Linked DNA regions of Homo sapiens: all the other regions are linked to region 2. Evidence: promoter capture Hi-C in human tissues and cell types (Jung and others, 2019). All regions are on one chromosome and are shown on one strand. The core of a region is centred on a gene start or on the middle of the fragment in contact, and the rest is flanking DNA. Distances in the headings are between cores, read along the strand shown.

Evidence for each region. The method cuts DNA at HindIII sites, captures the fragments that hold promoters and counts their contacts. A contact is called where the count stands out against the background at its distance.
Region 1: a fragment that was not itself captured here is called in contact with the fragment with the promoter of IL1RL2 in region 2 in 1 of the 25 tissues and cell types used here (bladder).
Region 3: a contact is called between a fragment that was not itself captured here and the fragment with the promoter of IL1RL2 in region 2, in 1 of the 25 tissues and cell types used here (bladder).

The regions. Positions count from the first base shown.
Region 1 is chr2:102,128,034-102,132,236 of GRCh38, reverse strand. It overlaps a transcript of IL1R1 not described here. Among named protein-coding and RNA genes, the nearest start is that of IL1R1, 13 kb to the left of the region's middle. The HindIII fragment of the contact is 3,258 bases long and covers 330-3,587 here.
Region 2 is chr2:102,184,049-102,188,526 of GRCh38, reverse strand. It overlaps IL1RL2 (interleukin 1 receptor like 2), which reads right to left and starts at 1,504. Exons shown (of 12, transcript NM_003854.4): 1 at 1,441-1,504; 2 at 602-671. The coding sequence starts at 659. RefSeq lists an enhancer at 1,319-1,848. The HindIII fragment of the contact is 7,879 bases long and covers 1-4,266 here.
Region 3 is chr2:102,248,329-102,252,572 of GRCh38, reverse strand. It overlaps the pseudogene CFAP144P2. Among named protein-coding and RNA genes, the nearest start is that of IL1RL1, 61 kb to the left of the region's middle. RefSeq lists an enhancer at 1,317-1,910. The HindIII fragment of the contact is 3,485 bases long and covers 229-3,713 here.

The DNA.
Region 1 (4,203 bases), core at 709-3,208, 57 kb after region 2:
TAGATCCAGATCTCCATCTAGTATCCTTTTCCTTCTGTCTGAAGGATTTCCTCTAACATTTTTGTAGTGCAGGTCTGTTAGTGATTAATTCAGCTTTTATATATCTGAAATGGCTTTATTGTGTCTTTGTTTTTGAAAGATATTTTCACTGTGTATAAAATTCTTGGTTGACAATTTTTTCCTTTAGTATGTTAGAGATCATGCTCCAAACTCTTCTAGCTTGCATTGTTTCTATGAGGAATCTGCTACCATCTGTGTCACTGCTGTTTCTTGGTAGGCGTATTTTTTCCCTCAGGCTTCTAAGATTTTTTCTTTATCGCTGATTTTAAGAAATTTAATTATGATGAAATGATGTGTTTGTCCTCAAGTTTCTTAAGGTTCACTGAACTTCTTGGGTATGTGGGTTTGTAATTTTCAGTTCAGCTTGGAGAACTCCTGGCCATTATTTCTTCAAATATTTTTCCTGTCACTCCCTTTTTCCCTTGAGTGACTCCAATTACATGTGTATTTGGTGACTTGAAATTTTCCCACCGTTTCGTGATGCTCTGTTCTTTACTTGTTTGTTTTTCCTCCTCTGTGGTTTTTTTTTATAGTTTCTATTGTTATGTCTTTCGATTCACTGATCTATTCTTCTGCAATATCTAATCTGCTATTAATCTCATCCAGTCATTTTTTTTACCTCAGAAATTGTAGTTGTTATCTCTAGAAGTTAGACGCAGGCATTTTCACGTCTTTTGTTTCTCTACTTACCTCTGTGTTTATGGAATACAGTTATAAAAACTGTTTCCATGTCCTTGTCTGCTAATTCTAACATCTCTATTAGTTCTTGGTTGGTTTTGACTCATTTTCCTCTGCATTATTATCATCCTTATTTGCATACCTGGTAATTTTTTGGTTGAATGCCAAACATTGTGGATTTTAACTTGTTAGATGCTGAATATTTTTGTGTCTTAGGATGCATTTGAGTTATTGAGAATAGTTTGATTCTTTTGGATCTTGCTTTTAAGACTCGGCAGACAGGACCACAGCACCATTCACTCTAGGACTCATTTTATCCCACTTCTGAAGCTTGATGCTTCTGAGTCCTCTAACAAATCCCTATGAATTACGAGACTTTCCAGTCTGGCTGGTGAGAATAGGAATTATTCCTCCTCCTGTCCACTATTTCATCTAATCTTTTAGGGAGGCGCTTTTTCTGACTTTGGGTAGTCTTCTCACTGACTCTGCCTGGGTCACGCTTCCCTGTGCCATGGCCTGGAAACTCTCACATCAGTAAGCAGGAGAAGTCACAGGGCTTTGTTTTCTGCCTCTCAGGGATCACTATCCTTCCTTAGCTGATGTCCAATTCTTAAAAACCCTGGTTTTGCATATTTTGTAGAGTAATTTAGTTGTTTCTTATGAGAAAGTAAATCTAGGGCCTATTACTCAATCCTGGCTGGCATCAGAAATCTACTGACACAGTTTCTGAAGTTCATCAGTGAAGATGCCTGAGATTCTTTACACATGCCCACCCCCACCCTGCAAATTCTTTTTTAAACTTTGGTTGAAAAAGTTTTTGATATCTTTATAAAACATAACCAAGAATTAATACATTTTAGTCAAAACCAAGACTTTGGGGGAAGGAAGTAAACTGTGAACAATGTCAGATAAAGGACAGCCTGGCAGCTGTCAGGCCCTAGAGGCAGAGAGAGAAGTTAAGAGGCACCAGCCTGGATGGAAAACCTCCCAAGCTTGTGCCACCAAGAGTGAAAAGGAAAGAACAGCTGTCAAGGAAAGAGGAAAGATAAGAGTGAGGGAGACAGCTAAAGATCAAATCTACTATTTCCAGGGTTGCCAAACCTAAGAATTTTGCAAGAAGAATCATTAGCAATTGTGATTGCTTGAACACAGGCACCAGGAGGAAGCTGAGAGGGAATACTGAGAATGTTCAAAAACATTATTACCAAGAAAAAGATACGTTATATTATCAGTTCTCAAAGGTTCCTGAGATCCTTTCAGAGTCTTCAAGGTCAAAACTACTTTCATAATAATTCAAACATGGTATGTGTCTTTTTCATACACACGTACAGTGGACTTTTCCAGAGACCGCATGATGCAGAACTTCTCCAACATTGAATGCAGAAGCAGATATGAGAACTTATCTGTATTCTGTTGAGCAATGCATTAAAGAGATTTCCAGAACAATGTAAACAAAGTAAAAAAAGGTAATTCTTTTTGATACTTTCGTTTTTTAAAAATAATTGTTTTTATAAAAGAGATTTATGTTAACAGGCAATGAGTTTATCGGCATTTTTAAATAATTGTTAAAAATTTATTTTTTTAATTTCTCAGTTTTCATGTCTAATGTGCTTAATATCAATAGAATTAACCAGGTAGACAGAAGCTCTTTAAAGTTCTGAGAGTTTTTAAGAGTACGAAGGTGTCTTTAGACCGAAAGTTCAAGAACGTCTGCTCTACATAAAGCTTCTGCAGCCCTCTGAGACCACTGTGTAGTTCATGAAAGTGTCTACATAGGAGCAAGAAGAAAGGGCAGGCCAAGAGGTCAGAAGAGAGGGGCACCCTCGTCAACAGCTGCTTCACCCCTGACCCCGATTTCAAAGCAATACTTCACAGCACAGCAGCCCCTGTCAGGTTCACCATAAGGACCTACATCCTAAGTCATCATTGAGATTTGAACTGCTCCTTTAGGGGGTACAAATCCTGCCCTGAATTCCCCAACATCACCAATTCCCTTTCCAATTTACTGCACCGCAGCTTTCTTAACTGGTCATCTGACCTATGCTCAATAATTGGCCCTTATGTAGGAATGAAATTTCTAGATTTCAAGCACCTATCGGGTTCCTGACCATGATTTAGACACTTTAATAGGACATCACATTTAATGCTTATAACCATGAATGGTTTACTACTTTTCTTTGGGAAGGAGTTCTTGTTTTGGTTTTGTTGTTGTTGTTGTTGTTGTTGTTGTTGTTGTTGTTGTAGGTTTTTGGGGTTTCATTGTTGATTTCTTTTGTTTGTTTGTTGTTGAGACAAGGTCTCACTCTGTCACCCAGGCTGGAGTGCAGTAGCACCATCTTGGCTCACTGCAGCCTCAATCTCCTGGGCTCAAGTATTCCTCTCACCTCAGCCTCCCAAGTAGCTGGGACTACAGGCCTGGACCACCACACCCAGCTTATTTATTGTTTACTTTTTTATTCTTTAGAGACAGGGTCTTGCTATGTGGCCCAAGCTGGGCACAAACTCTCAGCCTCAAGTGATCTTCCTGTATCAGCCTCCCAAAACTATGGGATTACAGGAGTGAGCCACCACACTGGCTACTACTCTTGTTTTGTAGACAGCAACAGACATCCTAGAGAAGTTAAGGAACTTGCCCAAGATTACCCAATGAGTAAAATAACTGAACCGGGATCCAACACACTCTCCAAAACTGATCGTTTTCCCCCTTCACATTGCTGCCTTTTACTGTTCTACCACTGACCACTGCCATTGTGTGTAAAGTTAAAAATCACCCTAAAACATGTAGGAGTTTGAGATTTGCTCTTTAGAACTAGAGGAAGTGCAGAATGATGGTTACTAGCATAGGCAATGGAGCCCAACTGCCCCAAATGTATCCCAGCTCTACAATATACTATCTGTGTGGCACTAAGCAAGTTACTTAACTTCTCTTATGCCTCAATTCCCTTGATGGCAAAATAATGTTATCAATAGTCCCCAGCTTATTGGGTTGTTGAGAGAATAAGTTAATACATAAAAAGTATTTAAACATAGTCAATGATAGAGATGATCATTACCTGCCAAACATTCATTATATTTGGGTATTTATATACTCAGCCTCTTTGAACGTATAAAATGAGCATGATATACCTATTCAGTAATACCATAGAGGTATTGAGAAAATTACTGAAAATTCGTGTACCTGACAGTATTTCTACTATGCAAATAAGCAAATGTTACTGGAGCTTCATTAGGCATAAACTCATAGTGTGATGTCATTTTGGAATAGGGAGTTTTCGGGTAAAGAGTAAGCTAGTATTTCTGGCTAACAGAGTATATACGAGTCACCACAGCTGATAAATTCCTCATTCCAAAAGCATCAACCAAAACCACATTTAAAAAGGAGGGTATTTCGACACAAATACTCAAGTCTAAAGTAACCAAGTGTAAAATGCATAGATAACTTGATCTCTGTGTGATAGGAGAGCA
Region 2 (4,478 bases), core at 255-2,754:
AAGCTCCGCCTCCCGAGTTCACGCCATTCTCCTGCCTCAGCCTCTTGAGTAGCTGGGACTACAGGCGCCCGCCACCGCGCCCGGCTAATTTTTTTAATGTATTTTTAGTAGAGACGGGGTTTCACCGTGTTAGCCAGGATGGTCTAGATCTCCTGACCTCGTGATCCGCCCGCCTTGGCCTCCCAAAGTACTGGGATTACAGGCATGAGCCACTGCGCCCGGCCATACCAAATTTCTTAGAAGAAATTTGTTCTATTGACGGTTTCCTTGCTTTCACCTTGTGTCATAAAATAACGCTTTATCTTATAAAATAGCCTGTAGTAATTCCATTTGAGCATTGTTACTCAAGTCTTCACTTGGAATTTGCCTAACTCCTTCCCCTCCCCGAAGTCACCTCCAAGCTCAAAGGCGACATTCAGGGCTGAGCATCCGAGCACGTGGAGCTGGTTCTCTGTTTCCTCTTCCGCGGAACTCCGCCTGGCGGTCTGGGGAGGGGAAGGAGCCGCGCTCGGGCTGACGCGATCCCCGGGGGCTCCCAATGACAGGCCAGGAGCCTGTGGACTCGGGCAGCCTCTGGGAACGGAGGACACACGGAACGTACCTGCTGTGACAGACAGTGGAAGGGCGATGGACAACCCGCAGAGCAGCAAGGACCACATCCCCAAACCGGGCTGCAAGGAAGGGAGAAGAGGGTGGGAGGGGAGGACGCAGTAGGGCGGGCCCGAGGCGCCGGCGTGGGCGACCTCGGAATCTCAAAGACAACCGCCCAGGCCGCTGACCTTCCCTTTTTCCTGGGGAGCCCTCCGACTTTGGCCCCACGTTTCCCCAAAGACTGCCCTTCCCCTGTCTCCTTCGTCTGGGCGCCCGACCAGGATCCAGGGCAGGGAGCTCGCCCCGCCGCAGAGGAGGATGGGCGAGGAGTAGGCGGCGGCGGCGGTGGGGACCGCGTGGGAGCTGCTTCTGCCACCTGACAGCGAAGCAGGCTGGTGTCCAGAGCCCCCGTGAGGGCCAGGGCGCCCCCCAGCGCAGCCTGCGGCCTGGGTTCCAGACGTGGGACCCCAACCCCGCTCGCGGCGCACGGAGCCTCCCCTGCGCGCCTGTGTCCTCGGGATCCACCCGAGCCTGGCGGTCTAAACAGAAACCCCAAACACCCGCTCACTGGGGAGCAGCCAGGGCAGGCCTACCTGGCAAGGGCCAGCGGGAAAGGAGAAAGGAAGGCAGGGAGCCGCTGGAGCTGAAAATAGCCGCGAGCTCCACTCCTCGACCCAGAGACGGAGTCGGCTCCCCCATGGTCACCTAGCCGGTCGGGGGCCGGCCTGGGGGGCCTGATCCCTGGCCTGCGGTGGCACACATTGTTGCCACGTCTTTTCCTGCACACCTCTCCTACTGTCAGGGCCCCACCCATGCCTGGCTCAGCCAGACTCCCGGCCCGGTGTCTACCTGCCTGCAGGATTGAAGCGCGCAGGACCTCGTGGAGAGTGGAAAATATGACAGGGACACGAGCCCTGTCATGCCACTTCCATGCCTAGGTATTTCCCCGCCACCGTGGGCGGGGCAGACCTGCCTTCCCCAGTGGAGCGTAGGAAGGAATGTGACATCACACTAGGAAGTGGCTTGAAAGTCTTTGAGCCTGATTTTCTGGCATCTAAGTCCTTCATCACCAGGAGTGTCTGCTTAAGTCTATTCCAAGTTGAACGTCTAAATGAATTATTCATTCCTTTCCAAATCCTATTTGAGCAGTTACTGCATGCTCTGCATTGGCCTATGTGGAATGACCCCAAAGTGGAAGCCATCCCAAATGGCTTCTAAGGAGAATTATGAATCTGCCTGAGTCGTGCTCATTAACTTCTGTAAGGCAGGAATCCCATGGTGTTCAAGTACTTCAGAGCCTGAAGACTGTTCCTGTCTAAAACTTCCCGATAAGGTGATGTCAACAGGGACCTGTTGCCCTAGCCATCAGGAGACACCCCAGAGTCATCCCACAGGGCACTGAGTTGTAGGAAAAGGTTCAAAATGTAATCTCCATTCAATAGATTACTGGTCAAGCTCTTCCCAACGGTCTTTGAAAGATCAGAGACAGTGAGACAAAAGCAACCATAGGAGCAGAGATGCAATAATTGTGCTAATAGCAAAGCTTCCTGTGATAGGCTGAAGGTCAGTGGTTTGTAGATTTCTACACTCTTAAAAAGTATTGAGGATTCCAAAGTGCTTTTGTCTATGTAGGTTATGCCTGTCAATATTACTACATTAGAAGTTAAAGGGAGAATTTTTAAACGTTTACTTTCTTATTTAAGTGACAATAAACCCATTACATGTTAACGCAAATATCATACAATTTATGAAAAATAACTCTACTTTCTAAAACAGGCTTATTGAGAAAAGCGGCATTGTTCTACATAGATGCAGATCTCTTTGATGTCTGGCTTACTAGAAGATGACTGGATTCTCATACTTGCTTCTGCAATCAGTGTCATGATATAATATGTCATATAGCTTCTGAAAAGGTCCACCATACACTAATGAGAGAATGAGAATAAAAAAGGAATATAAGGTCTTAATATTACGATGAACATAGTTTTGATTTCACAGATCTTTTTGAAGGGTCTCTCAGGGACCCATAGGGCTCCCACTCTTTGAGGACCTCTTTCTTAAGCTATAAATAGAGATTATTATTTATTTCCCCTACTATCAGCAGTAAACGAGGTTCCTCTGTATATGTATATTCTTCAGCGTTTATGTCCTCATCCAAAACAAAACAAAAGTGTTACTATTTTTATAAAAGTCATATGATTTGCATTCAGAATTATTTCTATGAGCAGTGTTGAAAGGTATTTCTAAATCTTTATGCTATCTTTTTTCATTTTCACTTTATGAATAGATGCATTTGTGTCCTATCTTATTTCTTAGCCTGAGGACTAGTATATATGCCAAGTTTAATGGGTATTGTTGCCCCAAAATGTATGAAGTTAAGACAGGCCATCCCAGTCCCCTGCAGTGCCTCTCACTGGACACTTCTGACATTGCACTTTGCTACTAATTCTGAGAATCTGAAATTTAACTTCCTGGGATGGTCTCTATGCCAAATGTGTTTCCTGATACGTGGAAAATGAACACTTGGCTTTGAAGGCAGAACTGATTCCGGGTATTGTAAACTTAGCAATTAAAAATAACAGGAAACCATAATATTTACTGCAGGTTCTCAATTACCTTGAAAAAAAAAAACTTAAATGTATTCATCTCCTTCGAACATTTAAGTTTTTCCAAATTTATATTTTGCTCTTATAAACGGTGCTGCTGCAAAGATTCTGGTAATGTCCTTTTGTGCGAGTATTTCAGAGGCCATTTAGTGAACGGAATTGCAGAATCATTGGGTAGGTACATCCTCAATTGTATTAGAAAAGCCCTAATTTTTTTCCATAGCTATGTCCTTTAGAGGAAAAGAATTTCATTGCTTCATGTTCTTACCAATATTTGGTAATGTCAGACTTTTAAATTTTGCCAGTTTTGCTGCTCTGATGTAAAAGCTATCCTGTGATTTTATTTTATATACATTTAGATTGAGAGGTTATGCCCAGTTTTCAGAGGTGGCAGTTGTAAAGCCTCCATAACAGGGTGTATAATATGTAATAGATGCTTATCACCATCCCCCTACCAACCCCTCCTTGTCTAATTCTCTCCCACTTGCAGATATTTTTTCAATGGGAATATTCTTAATGTTTTCTAGCATTAGTCAGTGGCCATAGGAAATAATTTTCAGTTGGTTTTTTTTTTTATGAAGTAAATCAACTTCCTCTAGAGATTCATCACTTCATTCTGAGAGCAGGCAAAAAGCAACAAATCTGTGTGTGATGAAAGCATTACAGAATTCTGCTTGGTTGAATTTTACCTTCAGTCTATTTGACCCTCAGACTAGGATATGACGGCTATTCAGAAGGGTAGGAGGGCAACAATTTGGATTAAAGATTTCATATACAAATTTATATTTTACATGATGCATACTACCTTTTATTTGTTCTAACTAAATATCTGATTATTTCCCATTGGCCATATCCCACAGATAATGTTTCCCAATGAGAATGAAACAGAAATATATTCACACGCAACAATTAAACTTTCCAAAACCCAGTATTAGGCTGGGGTGGGTGTTTGGGGCTCCACCAAGATCTTTATACCTTTAAGGCCCTTAAGTTCTCATATTTCCCCTCTATGAGGCTTGGGAATATATAGCAGCATTTCTGTAGCAGACTGCTATTGTTGGGATGAAATGGACTTCTAGAAATGGAAGAAGCAGCCAGGGAGACTGGAAGGAGGTCCTTAAAGCACTTGGTTTCCTGCAGTCCTGGGCTTAATCACTCACTCCCTCGAGCTCCATTCATTAGTTCGCTCAGTCCCTCATCAAATATTTATACAGTTCCCACTGTGTTCCAGGTGATATTCTGAGTGCCAGAAATACAGCTGTACAGAAGACAGACCCTCTT
Region 3 (4,244 bases), core at 722-3,221, 64 kb before region 2:
AAGTCAAAAAAACAACGCAAGGACACAGAGAAAAAGGAACGCTTATACACTGCTGGTGGGGATGTAAATTAGTTCAACTTCTATGGAAAACAGTGTGGAGATTTCTCAATTAACTAAAAAGAGAACTACCATTTGACCCAGCAATCCTACTATTGGGAATCTACCCAAAGGAAATGAAATCATTACATTAAAAAAGACACTTGTACTCAGATGTTTATTGCAGCACTATTCACAATAGCAAAATCATGGAACCAACCTAAATGTCCAGCCACAGTTGATTGGATAAAGAAAATATGGTAAGGAATACTATATAGCCATAAAAAAGAATGAAATCATGTCCGTTGAATCAACATCATGGAGCTGGAGGCCATCATACTAAGTAAAATAACTCAGAAACAGAAAGTACAATACTGCATGTTCTCACTTAAAAGTGAGAGCTAAACAATGAGTACATATGAACATAAAGATGGAAGTAACAGACATTGGGGACTTCAAAATGGAGGAGGGTGGGATGGTAGTGAGGGATAAAAAATACCTATTGGGTACAATGTTCATATTTTGGTGATGGGTACCCTAGAAGCCAAATCCTCACCATTATGCAATATATCCATGTAACAAACATGCACATGTACCCAGGAATCTAAAATGAAATAAAATAAATATTTAAAGATTTAAAAAAAGTATTTTAAAGAGTAAAGCTTCAAACCAAGGAATACGGGGACCAAGGGTAAGCTAGGAAACGCCCAGGTCTGCTCTGACGCGCCCCCTGCAGGACCCCGTCCAGACATGCAGGAGAGGCAAGGCGCTGGTGCGCGCTTGGGGCATTTTGCCTTCCCTCCTACCTGCCCTCTCCTGACCCAAGTTCTAGCCCCACCTGCTTTGTCACCACCGCCAGCCTATGGAAGTTCCCTCTCTGGTCCTTCCTGTCCCATGGGTAAAATGGACCTAGCATGTCTAATTGCGCATGTTCCCGCAGTGATGTGAAGGACTGAAGGGCTTTGAACGCTGCGCTGTCTTAAGGGAAGGTGCCTGGGGCACTGACTTCGTCCCCTTTTCCCAGATCCTGCTCAGAGCCGCTCCCCCAGGCCCCCGGCCTCTAACTGTATCCTAGCCCTCTGATCAGCCTTTGCCTACTGAGGGCAAAACTACAGGGTACAAGAATAGGGGTTGCTATGTCCCCCCATTTCCTTTGTCTTCCATTTCCCCGTTCGCTCCTAAACCCTGAGACGGGGCCCTGTGCCAACTCGCGAGGGGCTCCCGGCTTCACGGGGGGCGCAGGTCACAAAGCACGTTCCGCCCTGGAACGCCCTGAGGAGATAAAAGCCGCGCAGGCCCCGCGCTCGCCGCGCACTCCGACCGTTCCGACGAGGGAGCTTTGCACTCGCTGAAAATGACTCGAAAGCTGCCCCGCCTCTCCGCCTCCCAACCCCGGCGCCCGCTCGGCGCCACCCCGCAGCTCCCTGGCAGTCGGCTCTTCTTTCCTCCCATCCGTCCCCCGTTTCTGGACCCGCAGACTACGCTCCTGTTCCAGCCCACCTACTCGTCCTTCTGCCCCATCTGCTACCCGTCTCTGAACCAATTCGTCCCCGTCCACTACCCCGTCTTGGGCATCGCCCTGCCGAGCTCTTCCTGCCTGAATCTTCATAAGATCTGCATCTGCCGCCCTCATGTCCGTTGGGGCCCCAACTTCCACTACGTCCCTCCCTATCCCCCCACGCCCCCGCCCAGCCCCTGCTTTTAGAAGCTGCCTACAGCCCGCCCCCGCCCAGCCACCCACGCGGCCCTGACGATCCACGACCCCACGGAGGGGCCCCTGCAGGCACCGTGCTCGGGCAGCGAAGGAGCGGACCCTAGGGTCCCCGCGGCCTGGCTGTGGACACGGGGACGCAGGACCACGGACACCCACCCTCGGCCTCCGCTGCCTGCTCAGCCAGCCGCGCCAGCCTCTGCATTTGGCAATGGCTTCCCCGTGGGCCTTGGTCTGGAACCACGGAGCAAACTGCAGGCCCGAGACAGAGAAGGGAGAGCACGAGGAAGCAGCGCCTCTGCTCGCTGGGAGAGAAACGACTGGCCAAGGTGAGGCCTAACCACATGCCCATGACCTCCGGGTCTGTCCCGTGACAGGAAGCCCTTTCCTGGAGGTGTCCACGGGCGGTTGGGGTAAGGGCTGGGTCGCCAGGAGCTGGGGCTGTGGGAGTGCTGTAGCCTGGAGACCGTGTGGGACACCGTTGCCTGGAGAAGGCAGAAGCCCGGGGCCAGGGAGAGAGGCACAAGGGAGCAGAGAGCGCATCGAACCCGATGGAGCAATGCCAAGGCCATGGCGGGACACCCCAGGGAGAAGGTGATCCAGGATGAGGTCCGTCAGAACCAGATCTTGCAGGAGCTGTACCTCAAAGGGCTACCAGCCCAGAACGTCTATGCGCGGTATCACGTGAACCCCTCCACGAGGTCCACAGATCACCAGGAAGCCCATGTCTTGGCATGGTAACCTGGAGGAGCCTGGAGACGCCAGGTTTCGGAATCTCATTCACCACGCTGCCCAGGGACCAAGGAAGAGGGACCCAGACACAGACCGAAAACCAGGAAAGTGCATGGGACTCAGTGCCCCCCCCTCAACCCAGAATGCCCAGATTGCAGGCTGAACCACTGCAGGGTCTGCAATGACATCGCTCTGTACAAGGCTCAGATGTGGAGCCTGGGAGGAGATGATGGCCACCAGTGGCATCCCAGCAGTGGACTGAGGCGCCGGATTTCATGCCTTAAGTGTGCACTGCCCCCAAAAATAAATTTTTTATGTTACTTTTGAGCCATTGTATAATTTATACCCAAACACACTTATGATAGGAACCCCAAACCTAGTATGGCTTTTTAATCTCTTTTCCAAGGAGAGAAACTTACATGATTTCATAGAAAAATTCACATTGCTACAGTGATATCAATCAGAAAGAAGTCTGCAGGAAAAGACTAACATATTGAGGCTTGTATTTGTTAGGATTATTTCCATTGTGAGAAACAGAAACCAAATTTAAGCAGAAATGAGAAATAGTTAACTCCTAAACTTCAGAGTTCCAAGGAATTCAGGCATGACAGGATCCAGGGACTCAAACAATGTCACAGATCTCTCTTGGTCTCTCTTTCCTTCTCTGATTCTGCTTATCTCTTGACTCTTCACTTTTGACATGATTCATTCTTGACGCTAACAAAATCTATCCTTGTGGAAGGAAAGACTGCTACCAGCAAAGCTATACCCACATTTCAGAGACAGAGTAGGAGAGGGAGCAAGAGAGAGACAATTTTTCCCACCTAATCCAGCTGAAAAGAATCTCCGAGGATTTAGGTTCATCTATCCTGTGTTGCAAAGCTGCCTACAAACTGTGCAAGCTGTACCATGTTAGGGTTGACCAAGCCTGGGCATGGACTCACAGGAGCCAAATGCACACAGGAAGCTTCCTAGTGGAATCAAAGGAAGGGTGAGAAAATGTACTGCTCATACCCAAAGTGTAGTCTATTACAAACTTACACATTCTCCGGGAATAAACTATAGAGTAGGAGGGAAACTGTCACTTAGGGGCACTATGGCTTATTGAATTTTGGAGTCAGCCAGCCCTGGGTTCAAATACTATGGAGTACTAGGGAAAGCGATCAAAACTCTCTAAAGCCTGATATATAGGAATGTGCAATATATACCTCAGAAGGTTCTTGTAAAGGCTTGTGCAGCCACTGCCTGGCACATACTAAATGCTCAACAAAACATGAATCCCTATAGTGGTCAGCAGCACCATTTCATGATGCCGAGTGTAGTTTGCTGTGACTTGTTTATATGTTTAGACAAAACACCTGCATTCATTCAAAGTTGTCCTTCCTTGTCCTTTTGTCCAAAGAACATTGTAACGTCATCCCCAGAGTGGTGCCCACTTATGCCTTCTTCCCACAGCAGCCCACACTAAATGTCAATTCTGTACTCCTTTCCTATAACAAAGCTTCCATTTTGTCTCCTTTCTATCTCAGCCATCAAATTGAAATGCAATCAAATAAATGTACCCTTGCAAGTGTGTGAATGAAGCTGTTGGAGACATTAATAAAATACTCTTGCTGATTGCATACATTAACTATTTTAAAATTTTAATTCTAGAAATGTATGTAGTAGTAGACTGGTCTCCCCCAGAGATGTTTTAGAGCAACACAGCTTTTCAGCATCTCTAAAATGTTACTGGGTAGGTAACTGCCTATATAGAAAGCCAGGT